Regions from separate parts of the Homo sapiens genome. Here regions 1, 2, 3, 4, 6 and 7 are each linked to region 5. The links are contacts of gene promoters, found by promoter capture Hi-C in blood cells and fetal thymus (Javierre and others, 2016). All regions are on one chromosome and are shown on one strand. Each heading gives the region's core, a stretch centred on a gene start or on the middle of the fragment in contact. The rest is flanking DNA. Distances are from core to core; before and after follow the strand shown. Region 1 has its middle 31 kb from the start of COL25A1-DT. Region 2 overlaps COL25A1-DT (COL25A1 divergent transcript). Region 3 has its middle 65 kb from the start of COL25A1-DT. Region 4 overlaps HADH (hydroxyacyl-CoA dehydrogenase). Region 5 holds the start of ETNPPL (ethanolamine-phosphate phospho-lyase). Region 6 overlaps HADH (hydroxyacyl-CoA dehydrogenase). Region 7 has its middle 47 kb from the start of SEC24B.

Region 1 (2,700 bases), core at 199-2,698, 570 kb after region 5:
TGTGAAAAGCAGAAAGCTTCTTCTGGAGCATGTTGACATCTCAAAGGATATTTTGAGATCTCACTTTTTGAGACATCACTTATTATAATTAATAGTATATTTAGCTCATTGCTAACATGGTGTCCGTATTATTACTCTTGTCACTAAAGTGTCTGGATCTAAGATGTGATTAAGTAAATTCCTAGAAATAAGTACTGCATGGAAATCTCTGCTAGTGGATGGAGCATGGCATCAGGAGGGGCCTGGCAGTGGGTACAATGGGCTATAGGCAGAGATCCAGACAGGCTATATATTTGAACTGCCTCATTAATTAAGTCTTCCAGGCCACCTATTATAGCATCTATTACACATCTGGCACCTGAAAAAGAACTTTCTTTGATTTGGTAATCCAAACCTTACAATAGGACTGGTGTTAGGTACAGTTTTGTCATCATGACTTGGCTACTCTGGTATATCATAGTAACAAATCCCACACAGAGAACCTTACACAGCCCCAGCTTCATAAAGCTCCCAGGATGACTGATAGTTTGCTTCTTTTCAGTAACCTGTTTTGGGTCCTATAATCAAACATCATGTGGGGTCTTGTGGGTACTCAACCTCATAGGCAAACTTTGTCCACACCTCTCTACCCCCATTTCACACAAACACACACAGCCTGCCCTGTAGCGCCCTCTGGGGCCAAAGGATGCACACCCCAGTGGTAAGTTATACCCTTTGGAGGATGAGCCTGAAGAAGGTGGAGGCCTATGAAATGGGGCTTGGCACTATTTGACAGGGAATTCCACTGTCCAGTATGTTGAGCATGGCTGGGGTTGGGAAGAGAGTACAGCACTGGAACTGGGTGGGCATATGCCCTTGGCCCAGTGGAGTCTTCACTCTGTGAGGAGGAGAATCGCTGGAGGAGGGTCTAAACAGGGGCTCTGGAAAGGACAGGCCTGGAGAATAAGGGTGGTACTGCCTCAGATAATGCTCAGCACACTTTGCATAGCTTTGAACAGCTGCATTAACCATAGATTCAGGAGTCATTTCACTTAGGACTAGCCTTATCAGAGTGAGTTACAAGGAAAGGAAGCTGAATAAGGAAACCTAGGCCACCAGCCTGTCCCAGGGAAAGGGTATGTCACAGCAGTTTCTGAGCTTAGATGTTTCTGAGCTTCTATTCCTGCCATTCTAAAGCCCAAAGCACTGCTCAGTTTCCCCAAATAGGTCAAAGATACAAAGCTGGGGAAGGAGAGCGCCAAGGACATGGGAAGAAAGGTGGGTAGGTCTCCAGGGTCTCTGTCTTGTTCTCCAGCCCTACCCCATTTATTAATCTCCTTGTTTTCTTCACCTCCTAAGGATGGCAAATACCCCCAGGATAAAACATTTACCAGTTCACCAATTTCTGCTCTTACAATCACTCTATTCTCTCAAGGCAATTCTTCCCAGTTTTCTTAGGCATTTCATATTACTAACAAGATGTTTTCTATATTTTTTCTGGATATATTTTGTATGAGGGTTGGACTGAATTATAGTTGACTATTACTGGAAGTGGAAATCCCCAATTGGCTTTCAGATAGTTGGTTTTTGGCAAACTGTGTTTCAGTGAATGGACCCCAAGTAGAGCTTCAAGTTTCCTTAGATTAGCTTTGAAAATGCATTATTTAACAAACACTTCTTTAACCAGCACTTACTGACTATTACCCTCTTTAAGGCACTATAGTAAACCACAGAGAAGATACAAAAATGAAAACAATGTAAGTTGTGTCGTTAAAAGAATGTATAATCTTGAGGGGGAGTCAGACATACGTATAAATAATAAAGGAGTGAAGGAGGAGGGCGAAGTGCAGAGAATGAACTGACTCTGGAAGTAACACGCCTGGAGATTACAAATTGGAACAGAAATGTCATGTTTTGTGAGGACTATAAATCAAAGGTCTCAAAATGGTAGGCCACAGACTGAATTCAGCCCACAAACGTGTTTGGTTTGGCCCACATCGTGTTTTAAAAATAAGAGATTTCCCATTTAAAAAAAAAATCTGGATTTCCATCTTCTGAAAACTCAGAATATCTGGCAACTGTCCTCATTGCCAACTGGCAAGTGTCAGCTGGAGCCGAGTGGAAGCTGCCTCCTTGGAGAGGGCCTCATTTCTTCCAGTCACCACATTTCCCATCAGTCCCCCACCATCAGCCTTCACACCCCGCACAGTTCACCTTCTCCACCTAATGAAAAGTGCTACATAAATGCAGCTTCCAGCCCTTCTTCAGAGAGCTAATTTTAGGCCTTCAATTTCATGCCTTCAATTTCATGCCTCACCACCCCCCACCCCTCCACACACATTGTTAACCCCATTTTTCTATATAGAAAATCTAGACCACAAGGACTCACCACCACCGTCAGTCATTGAAATATCCTTCCTGTAGGCACTTAAGTTTATGACCTCTGTGTGTTGATCCTATCCCTGCAGCATAGTCTGTGGGAGAGCGAGTCCATGAAAGTTCCTTCCCAGCAGTTTTACTGCCAGAGGCTTTAGAGGAGAAGCCACCCCTAAGAGTTCTGTTTCAGAATAGGGTTTAGGGATTGTGTCCTATTACCTATAAGTTGAAATTTGAGTATCAGATTCTACTATTCTTCCATGAGCCCTTAGGGCATATTTAATCATCTAATCATTCTGAACTAGAGGAAAATTTGTAGTCTAGCTCAGAGATGCAGGAGGAATA
Region 2 (2,700 bases), core at 114-2,613, 550 kb after region 5:
CATGACCTTGGATTGAGGCAGGGTTTTCTAAATAATATACGTAAAGAGCTAGCCACAGAGGAAATGATTGATAAATTGGAATATATTAAATCAAGATCTTCTGTTTATTAAAAAAACTTAAAATGATTGAAATACAAGACAAAGAATGAGAAAAGATATTTGCAAAATATAGAAATGAGAAAAGACTATTATCTAGAATGTATAAGAATTCTTGCAAATCAATGCGAAAAAGCATCAGACAACCTAATAAAAAAAATTAGCAAAAGCTTAAATAAGCACTTTTATAAGTGAAAAATAAAAAACAGCCAATAAACATTTTTAACTTTTATTTTAAGTTCAGGGGTACATGTGCAGGTTTGTTACATAGGTAAACTATGTCACAGGAGTTTATTGTAAAGATTATCTCATCACCCAGGTATTAAGCCTAATGTCCATTAGTATTTTTCCAAATCCTCTCCTCCATCCCACCCTCCACCCTCTAGTAGGCCTCAATGTGTGTTGTTCCACGCTATATGTCCTATACTCTCATTATTTAGCTCCCAGTTATGAGTGAGAACAGGCAGCATTTGATTTTTTGTTCCCATATTAGTTTACTAAGGTTAGGCATCCAACTCCATCCATGTCCCTGCAAAGGACATGATCTCATTCTTTTTTGTGGCTGAATAGTATTCCATGGTGTATTTGTATCATGTTTTCTTTATCCAGTCTATCATTGATGGGCATTTAAGTTGATTCCATGTCTTTGCTATTGTGAATAGTGCTGCAATTAACATACACATGAATTTTTTTATAATAGAACAATATATATTTCTGTAGTTATATACCCAGTAATGGGATTACTCGGTCAAATGGTATTTCTGTCTTTAGGTGTTTGAGGAATCACCACACTGTCTCCCACAATGGTTGAACTAATTTACACTCCCAACAACAGTGTATTAATGTTCCTTTTTCTCCACAACCTTGGCTGTGATAGCCACAGGAGATAGACAAATTTCTAGGCAGACAGGATGGGTCCTTGGTGAAACTCAACCTTCAAGCCAAAGACAGTCTAAAGCCTGAAAACTGAGCTACTAATTCAGGATAGAAGCCACAGATCTGAGTGAGAACTTCCATCCCCACCTTATCCACTGTCTCTCAATAGGTTCTTTCTGAATGATGCCTTTTAACCAATTGAATGGTGTCTTTTCCAAGCCCACCCATAAACCAATCAGCACACGTTCCCCTATTCTAAGCCCATAAAAACCCTGGACTCAGCCTCACTGATGGCAGTCTACTTTTGGGTCCCCTCTTGCTGAGGGCTTTCTTTCTGTCACTCAATAAAATTCAACTCTGCCTTACTCACTCTCCAATGTCCATGTACCTCACTCCTCTTGGTCATTAGACAAGAACTCAGAACTCACCAAACTGCAGGAGTGAAAGAGCAGTAACGCTCCCTCCCACTCGCTGAACTACGGGAGTAAAGAAGTTGATTGGTGCCACTCTCTCCCTCTCGCCAAACTACAGGAGTGAAGAAGCCACTGGGAGCCACTCCCTCTCACTCACCGAACTATGGGAGTAAAGAAGCTGCAACATTTCTGGAGGCTCGTCCAGGTCTTCAGAAGGGTGAGTAAGAGCAGACCTGTGACCCTTTACTTTCATTTCTGAGGACTCTCATCCTCACTTTTTTTTCGAAAACAGATAAAACACCAAGTCTCTGTTAGACAGTTAAGGGTGAATAGACCAACTGCCAATCTACAAGACTCAGAGGACAGACTTGCTCGGGAGGACATTGTCAGTCCCCCTTCATCCTTGGGTGTTGGGAATGTTGGCCTTGTTCCAATCCAGTTTCCTTTCCTGGAAGTCTAGCCATTACGTAGGTTGGAATAAAGTCCTGAACAACTGAAGGTATCTGGCCAAGGCACACTTTGGTGTTACCTGAAGACTCCTGGACCAGCTCCAATCCCCCACAGCCCATTCAGGTGCCAGGCCAAGGCTTTCAGTCCTTCCTATCTAATTTTCTTTCTTTCAAGAGTGTCCTGACTGCTATCCCCTATTTATAGACAATGTTACCGGTGTTTTTGCAACGAAAAGAGATACTATTACTGGATAGAATGAGGACTTGGCTTAGTCATCAGGAGTGTAATCCAGAACAATGTTGCTTCTGTCTATTCTTAGAAATAGAGGGATGTAACAATTAAGAGAGTTTTCTTTCCCCTGTTGAAGAAACTCATTACCACAGAACAAGAGGCTATTTCCCCCAGCCACCTTCCCTCCTCTGCATTTAAATTGCTTTTTTCCACCCTGTCAGAGTCAACATAATCCTGCGAATACAAGGAGCTTTTCCATGCAAGGGATTAATGTTTTCCTTTTGGGAGGCATCTTATTAGGCCAGGTCCCCAATTCCCAGGATTCCCTTTCTTTCCTTTGTTTGAGGAGGATCTGGTTCCACACCTTCACCTTAGTATTACTCCATTGTATTTTCCAAGCTTCGATTTGGAGCCCTATAAAGAAAACTAGATTTGAGGGACCAAGAGGCAGTCAACAGCAAAAGGCTAGGGCACAGCACAGGTAAGAATGACTATCCCTGCCAATTAGGCCTTCCCACTTCATGGGTGGAGGTGATGTTCATATCCATGATGTAGACACCACCAGCCCATCCATGGCACCAGTACTAGGTGCTGAGATTCAGGGGGTGACTCAAATTCAAGAGGATAGAGAAGA
Region 3 (2,700 bases), core at 98-2,597, 610 kb after region 5:
TCATGCAGGGTTTTATCTTAAAAGCAATAGGAAACCACTGAAGAGTATTTATTTTGTATTTATGAATATAATTCATTATGAATATAATTCTTTATATTTTCAGGTCAAATTTTGTGAATGTTTTTGGTAACACTGGTTTTTTAAAGCCAAGAATATTACTCCGAACTTTTCTCATCCACTATCATAACATACTCACCAAGGCTTTTTATTTTGAAATGAGAGTGATCCATGTACCTTAGTTTCTAAAATTCACTTTTCTTTAAAATGAAAATCACATAGAAAAAATGAATATATCCTGCACCTATGCACAAATGCATTCCAGTTTGAATTGCTATAGACCATGTGTTGAAACACCCCAAATAAGGTTATTCCAGGAAATATAGCATAATTATAGCTCAAAACGTAGCTCTCCTTGATTATATTATGAAACCCAAAATGGACTTGTGACACAGGTTAGTTTTCAAACATTGAAATACACACATTTTTATCTTCCTCTATGCTTGTAACAAAGATTCCTTCTCTCTGTGTTCACACTGAATGACTGTGTTCAGCAGGGAAGAAACCAGTCTCTCATACCATTCTTTTCCCAAACACCTGGTTATTCAGTTTTAACAAGGTGACTGGTTTCCACCATAACTCTGCTATTTTTCCACTTGGCTGAGTCCCCCTGGACCTTAAAGTAAAAACCTATGTAACATTAGCGTTCCTACTTATACTATACGGGTTCCACCTACATCATGCCACTAATTTACAGGGGATACTGTGAATAATGCAAATAGGTATTCCTTCCTGTGCACTTTCATTTGAATCTCTCTGAGATGGACCAAAAGGCAATATTATTCAGATCTTTCATTTTCTACCTCAATTCATATTTCACTGATTTATAAGCACAGGTAGAACTCTTTCATCTGCTGCTGGCTCCTTTCCTAGTTTATTGTGTATTTGAAATAACCATAAAGCGAAAAGATTTGCCAAGTTACCTTATTTATAGGATTAGAATAATGGTTGCCATTTACCTTTCAGACCAAAGTTCTTTCAAATATAACTAGAAGGAGGTCATTCCACAGTTGCAGTTACCCTTCCAAATGCTATAGAAATTCAGGGGAAGAGTGGTCATGTCAAACCCCCAGGTTGCATACTTTATATGGTAAAGTATGCCGTAAGGGTGTACCTGGTGCTTACTGAAACCATTCTAGTTTGAGAGCAGATGGACCATAAACACCAGGTAAATAATACTGGCTTTAATAATTTTTAATTAAATGGAGAACTTAGAAGTTGACCACAAAGTTCTCCTTCCTACCTGGCTATGGAGGGAACAATATTGTATACATTGAGGTTTAAAAAGAAAAGTATCACTCTTAGACCCAGGTGAACCGACCCTTGTCCTAAGCCCCATGCTGTAGAGGGCCCCACTCTTCCCCATGTTGCAGTCTCCTGTGCCCACTCAGAGGCTACACCCCCCACCCTTCGGGACCATTTCTGAATTCTAGGACCCCAGAATTCCTTGCCCAAATAGTCCTCAACCTGCTTCCAGAGTTTCTAGACCTAAAGGTGATCAAGTGGCAGCTGTCAGCGAGGAAGTGTGGTTGGTGCCTGGGTATGTGAATTGGGGTGTCCACACATACACAGGAAGCCCCTCGCCATGTAAGATGCAGCCAGCCATGGAGGAGACAGGGCCTGGCTCTCCCCATGCCTCCATGCTCTGGTAGGAAACACCAGGTTAAGAGAAAGAACATCTCTTACTGAACAATTTGATCACTTGATTTATAACTTGGAAATATTTAGATATATGATCTGCGGGCCTCTATTTATATTCTTGCCCCAAATCTCACAATTGTAAAAAATGGGCTTTAAAAGAATATATTGAATTCGAGACATCAGTGACTAATAGTAATCTGGGAAACTTTATATTCTTTTCTAAACATAAATCACTAGAACTGTAATACGAAAGATGTGACGAGGAAGAAAGAGGGAGTGGGACTCCACTGTTTAGATCAAACAGTAGCTTCAATCTCTTAAGTTGTGCTCTTTGTTCATTAAGCATGAGGAGCCAGCTAGAACATTCTTCTCTCTGCCACAAGAATTCCATCTGTAGAACAGAGGCTCCCAGGCTGCCAGCTGCTCTTCACTCCCCTGTCGTAAGAATGCAGCTGAGGTTGAAAACTTGTCACCAAGTTGGAGCCAATATCCACCTGTCCCTCTTGTCAGTCTCTTTCTATAAAGTCTTCCTGGGATTTAAAAACTAAAGCCATAAAAATGGGATTTGCCTTGACTCTTTCTAGAACAGCTATATACCATGCATGCATCATATGTCCCACAATGACGGTGTCTCTTAAAAATTGTGGTATTTAAATAAAATAACAGCTGTGCAGTACTATGAACAGCCATGACAGATATTCTTAGAAATTGTTTGCTTATTCAAATCACTGAATGTGGATTTTATTTTTCCAGTAAACCAAAAAAGAGAGAAAGAATAATAAAAGAGGGATGTTCACAGTTATAATTTATACAAAATCATGTCAAAAAATTTTCTATTTCTCATAAATAAAAAGCTAATATATAATTATATATCATAAGTATAGACTTTTTTCTATAGTAGGAAAGACAATGCTGCTATATAATATGCATGTCAATATGTCATTAATACCTAATACATTTTGAAAATATATAAATCCTTAATGGATTTTGCTTCAGTTTGGA
Region 4 (2,700 bases), core at 29-2,528, 760 kb before region 5:
TGATTTCATCATCTAAAGTTGGTGTTGGCAAAGAGAAGATAAGTGTTTAGGGTGTTGGATATCCCAGTTACCCTGATTTGATCATTACACATTTTAGGCAGGTATCAAAATGTCACATGTACCCCAAAAGTATGTACAGCTATTACATATCAGTTTTTTAAAGAAGAAAAGGTTGGTATGGTTAGCTTTTCTATTTCAAGTGTATCATTCATCTTTCACATCTGGGATTTCTCCTATGCTCTGGTTGGTTAATAACTTTTATTCTGAAATCGGTGAGATTCTTATGACATGAAATAGTCTATAACCAGTTAAGTTTTTATTTCTCTGTTCTGTTCACATCCTGGGGACTGGGCTGCCATTACATAACTGAGCAGCCATTGGTGGTTCACACCAGCGCCACACCCAGTTATTTTCTTTCAGTATTTGAATTCCTGCACAAAAGATCTGCTGTATCTGCAAATCACTAGAGGCACAAAAGAAGTGATTACCTCTACTAAGGGTTGGGAGAAGTTTCACTAAAGGAGAGATGGTGTCCATGTTAGATTATGAAGGGTAAGTTGAAGTCCATGAAGCAGCAATGAGGGAGCCGGACATGTATGGCAGAGGAAACCACATGAACAAGGGCACAGAGCCATGAGATAGCACAGAGGAGGGAGACGTGTGGTGTGGCTGGGGAAGACTACAGAATCGGGTTACTACCGTCCAAAGCATTTGTTATTTAGCAGTTATTGACCAGCTATCATATTCAAGGCATGTGATAAGTACTAAGGGCTACAAAGACCAAATCAATTTCTGCCATTAAGGGATTTTAAATCTAAGAGCAGAGATTAGACAGAGATCTAAATGACACAGTTTACTTTGGTGTAAAGTAGTACAATAAGAGCAGTAAAAATCTAGTTCTGAGGTTTCAAAATAGAAAGTACATTCATTTGGAAAAAGGCTTCATGGAGAGGGTAGCATTTGAAATGGGCCTGAATAATGGATAGAACATTTCTGGACAGCAGTTAATGGTTGGGATTAAGGAAAAAGTGTTGTCCAGAAAATGGTGACCTACAGAATAGTGGTACCAGTAATGAAGGCCAAGGAGAATTGATTTTAGGGTCAAGGTGATAACTGCAGCTTAGATAGATTATTTTGGTTTCAGGCACAGTTGGAAGTATGAGAACGATTGGAATTTCAGAAGGAAATTATATTGGAAACAGAACCTTGAAGGAAGTCCTTGTTTATAGGCTTAGAAGATCAAGAGAGGTCAATTAATATGGCTAAAAGGAACAGACAGATAAGAAACTGAAGAGTTTCAAAAATGAAACTTTTATTGGCAATGTACAGAGCTGTTGTAGAAGATGAAGCCAAAGAACAGGCATTGACTTTAGCAATTTAGTAGACCATTGATAAGTTACAGTAGTCCCCCCTTACGAGGGGAGGGAGTACATTCCTAGACCCTCAGTGGATGCGTGAAACTGCAGATAGTACCAAATCCTATACATACTATGTCTTTTTGATCTGATAACCCAGTCAACTACCAAGTGACTAATGGATTGGGTAGTATACAGTGTGGATATGCTGGACCAAGGGATGAGTCTCCTCCCAGACAGGACAATTCAAGATTGCATCACACTACTCAGAATGACATGCAATTTAAAACATGCATCATTTATTTCTATAATTTCCCATTTAATATTTTTGGACCATAGTTGACTGTTGGTAACTGAAACTACAGAAAGTAAAACCACAGATAAAGGGGGGACCAACTGTATCTAATTTCATGCAGCAGTGGTGGTGGAAGAAGCTACTCTGATAGGAATGTTTGTGTTCCCTCCAAAATTTATGTCGAAGCTGAATCCCCAGTGCAGCAGTATTAAGAGATAAGGCCTTTAGGAGGTGATTAGGTCATGAGGGTTCTGTATTCATGAACAGCTTAGTGCCATTTAAAGGGGCTTGAGAGACCAACTTTGCCTCTTCTCCCTTCTGCCATATGAGGACACAGTGCTCGTCCCCTCCAGAGCAGGGGTCCCCAACTTCTGGTCCGTGGCCCATTAGGAACCGGGCCACATAGAAGGATGTGAGCAGCTAGCAAGACTTCATTTGTATTTACAGCTGCTCCCCATCACTTGCATTGCTACCTGAGCTCTGCCTCCTGTTGGATCAAGAGTTGCATTAGATTCTCATAGGAGCATGAATCCTATTGTGAACTGTGCATGTGAGGGATCTAGGTTTCGTGTCCTTGTGAGAATCTAATGCCTGATGATCTGTCACTGTCTCCCATTATCCCCACATGGCACCATCTAGATGCAGCAGAACAAGCTCAGAGCTCCCACTAATTCTGTATTGTGGTGAGATGTATAATTATTTCATTATATATTACAATGTAATAATAATAGAAATAAAGTGCACAATCAATGTAATGCACTTGAATCATCCCTAAACCATCCCCTCTTCCCTGCAAGACGGTAGAAAAATTGTCTTCCGTGAAATTGTCTCCCATGTCTTCCTGGTGCCAAAAAAGGTTGGGGACCTTTGCTCCAGAGCATGCAGCAGCAAGGCACCATCTTGGAAGCAGAGAACAGCCCTCACCAGACACTGAACATGCTGATGATCTTGATCTCTGTTGTTTATACATTACCCAGTCTTTGGTATTTTGTTATAGCAGCACTAACAGACTGAAATAAGCCATATTACTAGAGTTTAGGAATTTAATGG
Region 5 (2,700 bases), core at 35-2,534:
ACTTAGCGGCTGAGAGAGATGGAACTAGTCTTCCAAACCACCCAGAAACCCCTCCAGTTGGGGTGAGGAGCTTCAGTCTGAGAAACTGTCCAGCATTCCTCCGAAGAGGATGCGGATTGTTTTCTTCCTTGTAACCCCAAGTGCTCTCTCATGCCCACTGGCCCGGCTGCAGTCGTTCATTTCAAGTGAATATTGCAGACGGTTGACTTTACAGTATTCGGGGTCATTAATCATCATTTATATTTACACGTATCTTTTTAAAAACCACGCACAAAACACTAACATATTAATCTCATCTTCTTGCTCCTGTGAAGTAGAATGTTATTCCTACTTTCATAGAAGAGACAATTAATTTGACAGAGGTCCACACAGGGAATATGACATCCAACGAGAGCTAGAGCCCCTGTCGGTCTTATATACTCACCTTTATATTACTAAGTCGTTTGTGACGGGGGCAAGACAAGCAGGCTGGGAAGAACACAGCTTGGGAGAGCAAGTTGGGTAAGAGGGATCTAAATAAAGTCTCTGCTTTTCTAACAGAAGGTGGTTTCAAGTTTTTCTATTGGCTAGATAAACCCTTCATCACTTAACCAAGCATGCAAGAAGAAAAAGCTCACTTTAAGTAAAAATTGTCAGAATTGGTTTGTTTGCGGAGCCATCATGAAAAAATATTTCTCAGTTCACAGTTTCCAAAAACTTTCGAGTTGTGTGGGGGTGGCGGAGCGCTATCCTTCTTCCACCCATCTCCCATCCCTGGAATGGTGTCTGCTAGGGCTATTGGCCGTCATCCACCAACCCCTCTAGCCGGCCGGCAGCCCCCGCTAGTCCGCCGGCTGCAGAGCGAGCCGGGGACTTTCGAGCGGGCAGGAAGCCCAGCGTTCCGGGTTCCAGGAGCGTTTCTGGGAGTCCGCGCGGCCCCTGCAGGTGGAGGCGCGCGGGGCGCGTGCACAGGCGCGGCGGGCACGGAGTGCGGCTGCAGCGCATCGTTTGTTCCCTAGCCGGCTTTCTCTCTCCACCTTCTGCACTCGTTATTGCCCCCTCTCTGCACTTACTTCCGGGCCAGGGTGCCCTTACCCGATGTGCTTCTTCCTCAGCCCCAGAGTGTCCCGCTTACTGTACAGCTCGCACATGGTGGCGGGGTGCAGGGCGCTGCGAAGGTGCAAGGTGCAAGGTCTGCGCGCCTCCTACGCGAGCCTGGGACTGCCTTGGCGGCCCCGGCCGGCCTTCCTCCCGTTATCCCTCCTGGCGTTCTCTTGCCCGGGGCGTCGGAGGTCACCGGTGGCGTCAACTAGCTAGGATCATCTCCCTTTTAAGTCTGGCTCTGGCGTTGCCCTTTGCCAAGCCCCTCCTCCTCCCCCGCCGGGGCCGCGGGCAGGTCGCCGGGCTAGCAGCTCATTCGCCACCACCCTGTCCTGCCAGGCCGGCTCGGCCCTACCCGCCCCTATCATTCCTCTGAATTCGCCTTTCATTCTCCTAACTTTGCCTCGTCTTTGCTTTTCCTCCTCCTCTGCCTGCGAATTCCCTCCTTCCCACGTTCTTTCTGGTTTCTTTTTAGTGTAGTCCTTTATTTTCTGGTAAAAATTCAGGAGTTAGGCGCTTCCCGGATCAAGACTCACTGCGCAGTCTGATAAGGTAACCTACCATTTACTCAGCACAAGGACGCGTCCTAACGAGAAATAACCCGGACTCAGCCTGTTATCTCCATTGGCAGTGATGATATATGCAGTGTTTCAAACATCTCCTTTAACAATGATTACACTTCTAATTCCTCTAACTATACAACTTACAAAACACATTCACATGACTTATCTTGTTCAGTCTTCAAAACAACCCTGAGAGATGACCACGAGTGTTACCCCATTTAATGAACGGGGAAAGTGAGGTTATTCCCTGTTCTAATGATTATATATCCACTTGATGCTGAAAACGGGACTCATTCTTAGATTTCTTGACTTCCTTCAAGATGGTCTTCTCACACAGATCATATCTGAAGCTAAATATGTGCACAGGTAGAAACTTTTTTTTTTTTTTTTTTTTTTTTTTTTTTTTTGAGGATGGAGTCTGGCTCTGTCACCCAGGCTGGAGTGCAGTGGCGCAATCTCGGCTCACTGCAAGCTCCGCCTCCCGGGTTCACGCCATTCTCCTGCCTCAGCCTCCCGAGTAGCTGGGACTACAGGCGCCCGTCACTACGCCCGGCTAATTTTTGTATTTTTAGTAGAGATGGGGTTTCACCATGTTAGCCAGGATAGTCTCGATCTCCTGACCTCGTGATCCCCCCGCCTCGGCCTCCCAATAGAATCTTAATTAACTGAATCATTAAATCATACATTATTTTAACTAGAAGTCATCTGGTTTAACTTCTCTGCTCTGTAGATAAGAACAGTGAGGCACAGGAAAGGTGAAGGTTTATTCAAGTTCACACAAACACTTAGTCATTGGGTTAAGGATAGGTCATTTTATTCTCTCTGTGTTTTGAAAGGGCAGCAGGGAAAGCCTAATTTGCATGTATCAACACATTTGATAAGTATTTGCAACTGATCTTTCTCTTGAAAAAAGTTATTAATATATATTCATGCACTGCAGGAGGAGTAGAATTGGATTGCCTAAGGTAGAAAGAGAAATGGAGTCCTATGAGGAACAGTGTGTTAATTCCAGATTTTAGGCCAGGCGCCGTGACTCACGCCTGTAATCCCAACATTT
Region 6 (2,700 bases), core at 12-2,511, 740 kb before region 5:
TTAATTCTGACCCCATGTAATGGTGCCTTAGCGTTGTCCCCAGATGAGGTACATCTCCTGTGCATTGTGATCAGAGCTATTAAAACCAGCTCCCATTGGGTGCGGCGGCTCATGCCTGTAATCCTAGAACTTTTGGAGGTGGAAGTTAGTGGATTGCTTGAGACCCAGGGGTTCAAGAACAGCCTAGGCAACATGGCAAGACCCCATTTCTACAAAAAATAAAAAATCAGCCAGGGGTTTTGGTGCACGCATGTAGTCTCCAGTACTTGGAAGGCTGAAGTGGGAGGATTGATTGAGCCTGGGAGGTTGAGGCTGCAGTGAGCTGTGATTGCACCACTGCACTCCAGCCTGGATGACAGAGCAAGATCCTATATCGAATAAAAAAACCCTAAAAGTAAAAAAATAAAACCAGCTTCTGATAGCCTTGAGCCTCCTGACCATAAACCTGGAAGGTGGAGCGGGGAGGCAGGGAGGGCTTCCCCAGCATCCTGTTTGGAATGCTTGGAGACTCCAATATGTTGGAGTTGGAGTCACAGTAGGCAATTTGCACCTGAAATGGGACAACTTGCCTTTTACAGGGTCCTAATTACAGGGTCTGAGGAGCAGCCGCTATTAAAGTAGCATTTGTTCTGAGGTTGAGGAGTTATTGCCCTGCGAAGTGTGGGGGACGCTGATGCTGCCATGTGGGTGATGTGGGGCCAGGCAAACCTACACACACTGGCTGTGGCCTCTCTGGGAGTGTGTATCGTCTGTTTTCTTCATTATTGCCTTTTCCAACTACCTTTTCCTTCCTTTATCCTCCTCATTCCCTCACCACTACTCAGCATAAGCATTTTTAATAAGTCATAATAATGACCATTTTTTTTAGCATTTTCTCTCAAGTGACAACTTTGACCATCTTGCAATGGGACTTTTTCTGTCTTACTAACATTGCTTCTCAGCTTCCTCCTATTTTCTCCTATCCCCTAAGGCTGATTTTTTGAAGAAATTGAAGAATGAAGGGGAGGGATTTGGGGAACAGAAGAAACAGCATTTAACAGCTCTTATCTCATGCAGATTAAGAGCAAAGAAGTGGCATGCATTTCCAACATTTCAGTACTTAGGGACTAGTTGATTTCTTTAGTTATTATATTGTATATATAAGTGTTTTGGAGATAGGCACATTCTGTAGATTTACTTTAATAATGTTTTCAACTGCATTTATCTGGTAATGTATGCTTTTGTCTTTGGAAATGTAGTGTGTTGGTTGTTAACAGCTGATGTTTAGCAAATGCTACTATTTTTTAGAAAGTATTTTGTAAAAGTGTTCTTCTCTATTCAGTTTTTATTGTTTAACTTTAGCTCTTCCTTGTGTTGCTGGTGGTGTACACCAAAATAACTTGTATAATAAGCTAAGTGGCTCCTTTACTTAGGACTGGGCTCATTTAAATGTATATATATATGTATTTTTTTTCAGACTCTGTTGGAACTAGGAGCAGCGTATCTGTACAAATTACTGTTCGTTGAATGAATGAATGAGTGAATAAACATCCATCTCTCCTGTTTAAAAAGAAACAAACCTTCACTATTATTAACTCCCTTAAACCAAAAACTTAATTTGAAAACTCCATAGTCAGCAGTGTTTGTCCCCCAGCTCAGTCTGTGGTTTTGATGGAGACTTTTTAGACCTCCTTTCAAACAGCTCTGGGATTCTGTTTGATTTGTGGTACCCGCAGGGTGGCTTCTGGTCTTTCTCGTCCTGCTCCTCTTCTCCATCTTCACTGTGTCTTTTCCTGTTTCCATCCATTCACTTCTCTTGATGTCACGACATGACACCATGGCCCAGGCTGTGATCACACGAAAACAGGAGTGAGAACTCTTCTTTGTTTATATAGCACCTTTCATCCCTGCACAGACACTAGCTCATTAGTTCACCGAGTCAGACGGCCCTCTTGCACAGGGAAGACATGCCCATGATCCCCATTCCAGAGAAGAGAGGTGAGGCAGTTGCCTAAGATCCCATGAAGGGTCTAAAGTAAACCCTTTGACTCCGATTGAAGTTCTTTACTGGCCTTTACATTTTACATATATATATGTGTGTGTGTGTGTGTGTGTATGTGTGTGTGTATGTGTGTGTGTGTGTGTGTGTGTATAGTTGAATGAATGAGTGAATAAACACGCATCTCTCCTGTTTAAAAATATATATATATATACTTCATCTGGTTCTTTCCATTTACCATTACACATGAGTTCTCTAACTGCTTACTGAGGGCTGACTGTGCCGGGCATCGTGCTTGGTGCCATCCCCTACAGATGCCAGTAGGGCAGCCCTTGTGCCCTTGCCTGTACCTCACAGAGGTCAGGAGGGCTGCTGGAGCAGGTGGCAGGCCCCGCTTGCTGTAAATGAAAGCCTTCCCCAGAAGGATGAGTCTGTTCTGAAGCCAAGGGGCCGCTGGCCTCTAGAGCATCTGTGTGGCAGAGGGTGGAGTCATGGGAGAAATACTCAGGAATCCAGGAGAACTGTCACTTGGGCAAATTACTCACTTTCCTGGGGCTCCTCCTCCTCTATAATAGAAGATCAGGTCCCACGTAGAAGACTTTAAGGGCAACCATCATATACTTCCAGACTTCTAATAATTAAATAATGGAAGTCAGCATTTATTGAGCATTTGTGCTTAGGCTTTGTGCTTTACTCCCAATGTAATTTCATTCTCACCTCAA
Region 7 (2,700 bases), core at 79-2,578, 620 kb after region 5:
ACACCCAAGAATCCTGTAACAATTTCATTTTTGCCATCTCTATAAGCTTTGCATTCAAAGCCTAATAAAGGATGAGTTTAAATCTACCTTGTTTAATGCTACATTCACAATGCCTGGTATAGGGCTTGGCACATAATAAGTATTTTTTGAATGAATGAATGAATGAATGCCTCATGTAAGTCAACTCATAGACTGGCCCACTCCAGACCTATTTATATTTATAGCCAAGAGGGCAAACTTACACATTATGGAATTTACCCAATTACACATAACAAACCTGAAAATCAGCCTAGGTCAGCAGGAGTCTATGGGTAAGGCTGAGAACATGAATATTTATCCACAGCCATTCACCTTTGGACATTCTTTATCTTATTTAGGCTCAGGAGAGAAAAAAAATTGGATTAGTTGAGAAGAGGGGTTGATAAAGACCACCCTTACCAGCTGTCTAGGATCATCCAAAAACTTCCACCAGCTGAGTTAGTTTTCAGCCAGGATGTCAGTGAACAATTTTTTGCAAAGACAGGTTCCCCTTAGAGCAGATTCTGAAACAAAGTTTTGAGTGCTGCAGTTGATTTGGATGTCATCCCAATGAAGAAAGAAAGAAATGAGACACGAGGAAGAAAAGTCAGCTAATTAAGATGTGTTTTCACTCTGGCTGTGTCACCCACTCTGGGCAACTGGAACTTAATTGCTCTCTGAAACTCTGCGTGTCAAGTCTCAGAGTTATCCCACCAGAGAAGTGAAAGAACTGGGACACATACACCTCCTCCCATCAGTTACTGGTGGGGCTGGGGGTCTGGGAAGGGGTCATTAGATTCCTGGCTTACCCAGCCTGCCCATGTTGCCAGAGGATACCTTGATCAGGTTGTCAGAAGCCAGCAATAGTAGTGAATTACAATGACAAGCCAGAAAGGAAATAGGCCAGGCACTGACAATGATTATTACAGACTCTCTTCCACCTTATGGTCATGCCTGAGAATTCACTGCCCCAGAATTTTAGAATTCCAGGAGACAGCATAACTCTTTTTGTTCCTTAAGTCTCTGACCCACAACACTTATACACAGCAACAGAACCATCTCTCAAAATCCCCCCTCCCCAGCCCCCAGAAATGTTAGTGGCAGCACAGCTGCCAACCTCTTTTTTTTTTTTTTTTTTTTTTAATTTAACGAGAGGCGAATTTAACAGGCAAGAAGGGGCAAGAAGGAAGGGAGAAGGAAGAAGCTCCCCTGTACAGAGACAGAGGGAGGGGGGCTCCAAAGCCGAGAGAGGGAACCCCACCTGCCACAGATACCAGCTAGGTGTACATACAGAGGCTGCAGGAGGCGGTGTCTGATTTGCATAGGGTCCATGGGATTGGTTTGACTAGGCATGTCATTCACATAGCCCGCGAAAAAGCTGGCCCTCCTGCCCTAGCCTTTTAATATACAAATGCAGGGCACCGTGACGTTCTACACACGTGGGGATACGTGGGGGCGGCCATGTTGCCAAAAACATGTGGGGAAAGGGCAAGAAGGCCACTGGAATCGCCATGTTTGGGTGGACCCAGTTTCTAATGGCTGGCGTTTGCATATCAAAGGTTGCCAGCCTGGCTCTAGAGCCAGGGCTTTACAAGAAACTTTTGCGGAGATGCTTTAAAAAAAGGAAAACTTAGGGCTGGGCACGGTGGCTCACGCCTGTAATCCCAGCACTTTGGGAGGCTGAGGCAGGCGGATCACCTGAGGTCGGGAGTTCAAGACCAGCCTGACCAACATGGAGAAACCCCCGTCTTTACTAAAAATACAAAATTAGCCAGGTGTGGTGCATGCCTGTAATCCCAGGCAGCTACTCGGGAGGCTGAGGCAAGAGATTCTCTTAACTCTGAGGCAAGAGAATCGCTTGAACCTGGGAGGCAGGGGTTGTGGTGAGCCAAGATCGTGCCATTGCACACCAGCCTGGGCAACAAGAGGGAAACTCCATCTCAAAACAAAAAAGAAAAAACAAAAAAGAAAACTTCCCAAGGACCCCTTTTCCTGTCTATCTGCCTAAAATAATTTCTTAATAACTCCTACAACATTCCCCCATGTGGAGATGCCACACTAACTGCTGTTAGGGGGTTTTGGGCAACGACTCCTTCTGGCTACTTCCTGCTGAAAAGGGGCATCAAATGGGGAACAGCAGCTAGGGCTCCTCCTAGGGTGGATCTAAGGGTCCTCCGAAGAATGGCATGTCCATGTGTAGTTAGTTTACAGAACCATTTGGAGTTTGCTTCTAGGCGAGAAGAAACAATTTGAGGTATAGTATTGTGTATACAGGGTCCAAATATCAATACAAGAAGACAAATAAGCAAGAGAGGTCTTAATAAAGGGGTTAACCAATTCCATAAAGAAGACTGGAATTTATTAGAGGGACTGTGGCCACTCAGGGCTGAAGCCGGCATTTTCCCTGAGCCTGTCAATAATTTTGATTTGATTTTTAAGTACCTATAGATTTTCCTTTACTTTACTAGAGGTGTTAATCCAAAAGCCAGCTGCCAACCTTCTGAACCCCACTACAAAATCACAGTAGAAAATAAAAATCACTATAGCAATTGCCATAAGGTAATACAATTTTCTGCTTACTTGCACTCCACCCAAGCTTCTCCCCTTCACCCATATACACCCATACTATGAACTCATTGAGAAAAAGTCCTCTCTGTTATTCATTTTTAAATCCTGCAAATC

What was found. The method cuts DNA at HindIII sites, captures the fragments that hold promoters and counts their contacts. A CHiCAGO score of 5 or more calls a contact.
Region 1: a contact is called between a fragment that was not itself captured here and the fragment with the promoter of ETNPPL in region 5, in 3 of 17 cell types (M1 macrophages, megakaryocytes and M2 macrophages). The highest score is 6.4, in M1 macrophages.
Region 2: a contact is called between a fragment that was not itself captured here and the fragment with the promoter of ETNPPL in region 5, in 1 of 17 cell types (M2 macrophages). The highest score is 5.2, in M2 macrophages.
Region 3: a fragment that was not itself captured here is called in contact with the fragment with the promoter of ETNPPL in region 5 in 1 of 17 cell types (M1 macrophages); the score reaches 5.2 in M1 macrophages.
Region 4: a contact is called between a fragment that was not itself captured here and the fragment with the promoter of ETNPPL in region 5, in 1 of 17 cell types (fetal thymus). The highest score is 7.1, in fetal thymus.
Region 6: a fragment that was not itself captured here is called in contact with the fragment with the promoter of ETNPPL in region 5 in 1 of 17 cell types (fetal thymus); the score reaches 6.6 in fetal thymus.
Region 7: a fragment that was not itself captured here is called in contact with the fragment with the promoter of ETNPPL in region 5 in 2 of 17 cell types (M1 macrophages and erythroblasts); the score reaches 5.7 in M1 macrophages.

What each region holds. Positions count from the first base shown.
Region 1 is chr4:109,332,464-109,335,163 of GRCh38, forward strand. No RefSeq gene overlaps it. Among named protein-coding and RNA genes, the nearest start is that of COL25A1-DT, 31 kb to the left of the region's middle. The HindIII fragment of the contact is 2,868 bases long and covers 15-2,700 here.
Region 2 is chr4:109,311,840-109,314,539 of GRCh38, forward strand. COL25A1-DT (COL25A1 divergent transcript) reads left to right here. Exons shown (of 3, transcript NR_160939.1): 2 at 1,504-1,602. Among named protein-coding and RNA genes, the nearest start is that of COL25A1-DT, 10 kb to the left of the region's middle. The HindIII fragment of the contact is 2,199 bases long and covers 265-2,463 here.
Region 3 is chr4:109,366,758-109,369,457 of GRCh38, forward strand. No RefSeq gene overlaps it. Among named protein-coding and RNA genes, the nearest start is that of COL25A1-DT, 65 kb to the left of the region's middle. The HindIII fragment of the contact is 8,120 bases long and covers 1-2,700 here.
Region 4 is chr4:108,000,158-108,002,857 of GRCh38, forward strand. All of the region lies in intron 1 of HADH (hydroxyacyl-CoA dehydrogenase), which reads left to right. Among named protein-coding and RNA genes, the nearest start is that of HADH, 12 kb to the left of the region's middle. The HindIII fragment of the contact is 2,945 bases long and covers 1-2,700 here.
Region 5 is chr4:108,761,769-108,764,468 of GRCh38, forward strand. It overlaps ETNPPL (ethanolamine-phosphate phospho-lyase), which reads right to left and starts at 1,285. Exons shown (of 13, transcript NM_031279.4): 1 at 1,075-1,285. The coding sequence starts at 1,130. The HindIII fragment of the contact is 7,360 bases long and covers 1-2,700 here.
Region 6 is chr4:108,020,095-108,022,794 of GRCh38, forward strand. All of the region lies in intron 4 of HADH (hydroxyacyl-CoA dehydrogenase), which reads left to right. Among named protein-coding and RNA genes, the nearest start is that of HADH, 32 kb to the left of the region's middle. The HindIII fragment of the contact is 4,645 bases long and covers 1-2,700 here.
Region 7 is chr4:109,385,591-109,388,290 of GRCh38, forward strand. No RefSeq gene overlaps it. Among named protein-coding and RNA genes, the nearest start is that of SEC24B, 47 kb to the right of the region's middle. The HindIII fragment of the contact is 2,568 bases long and covers 45-2,612 here.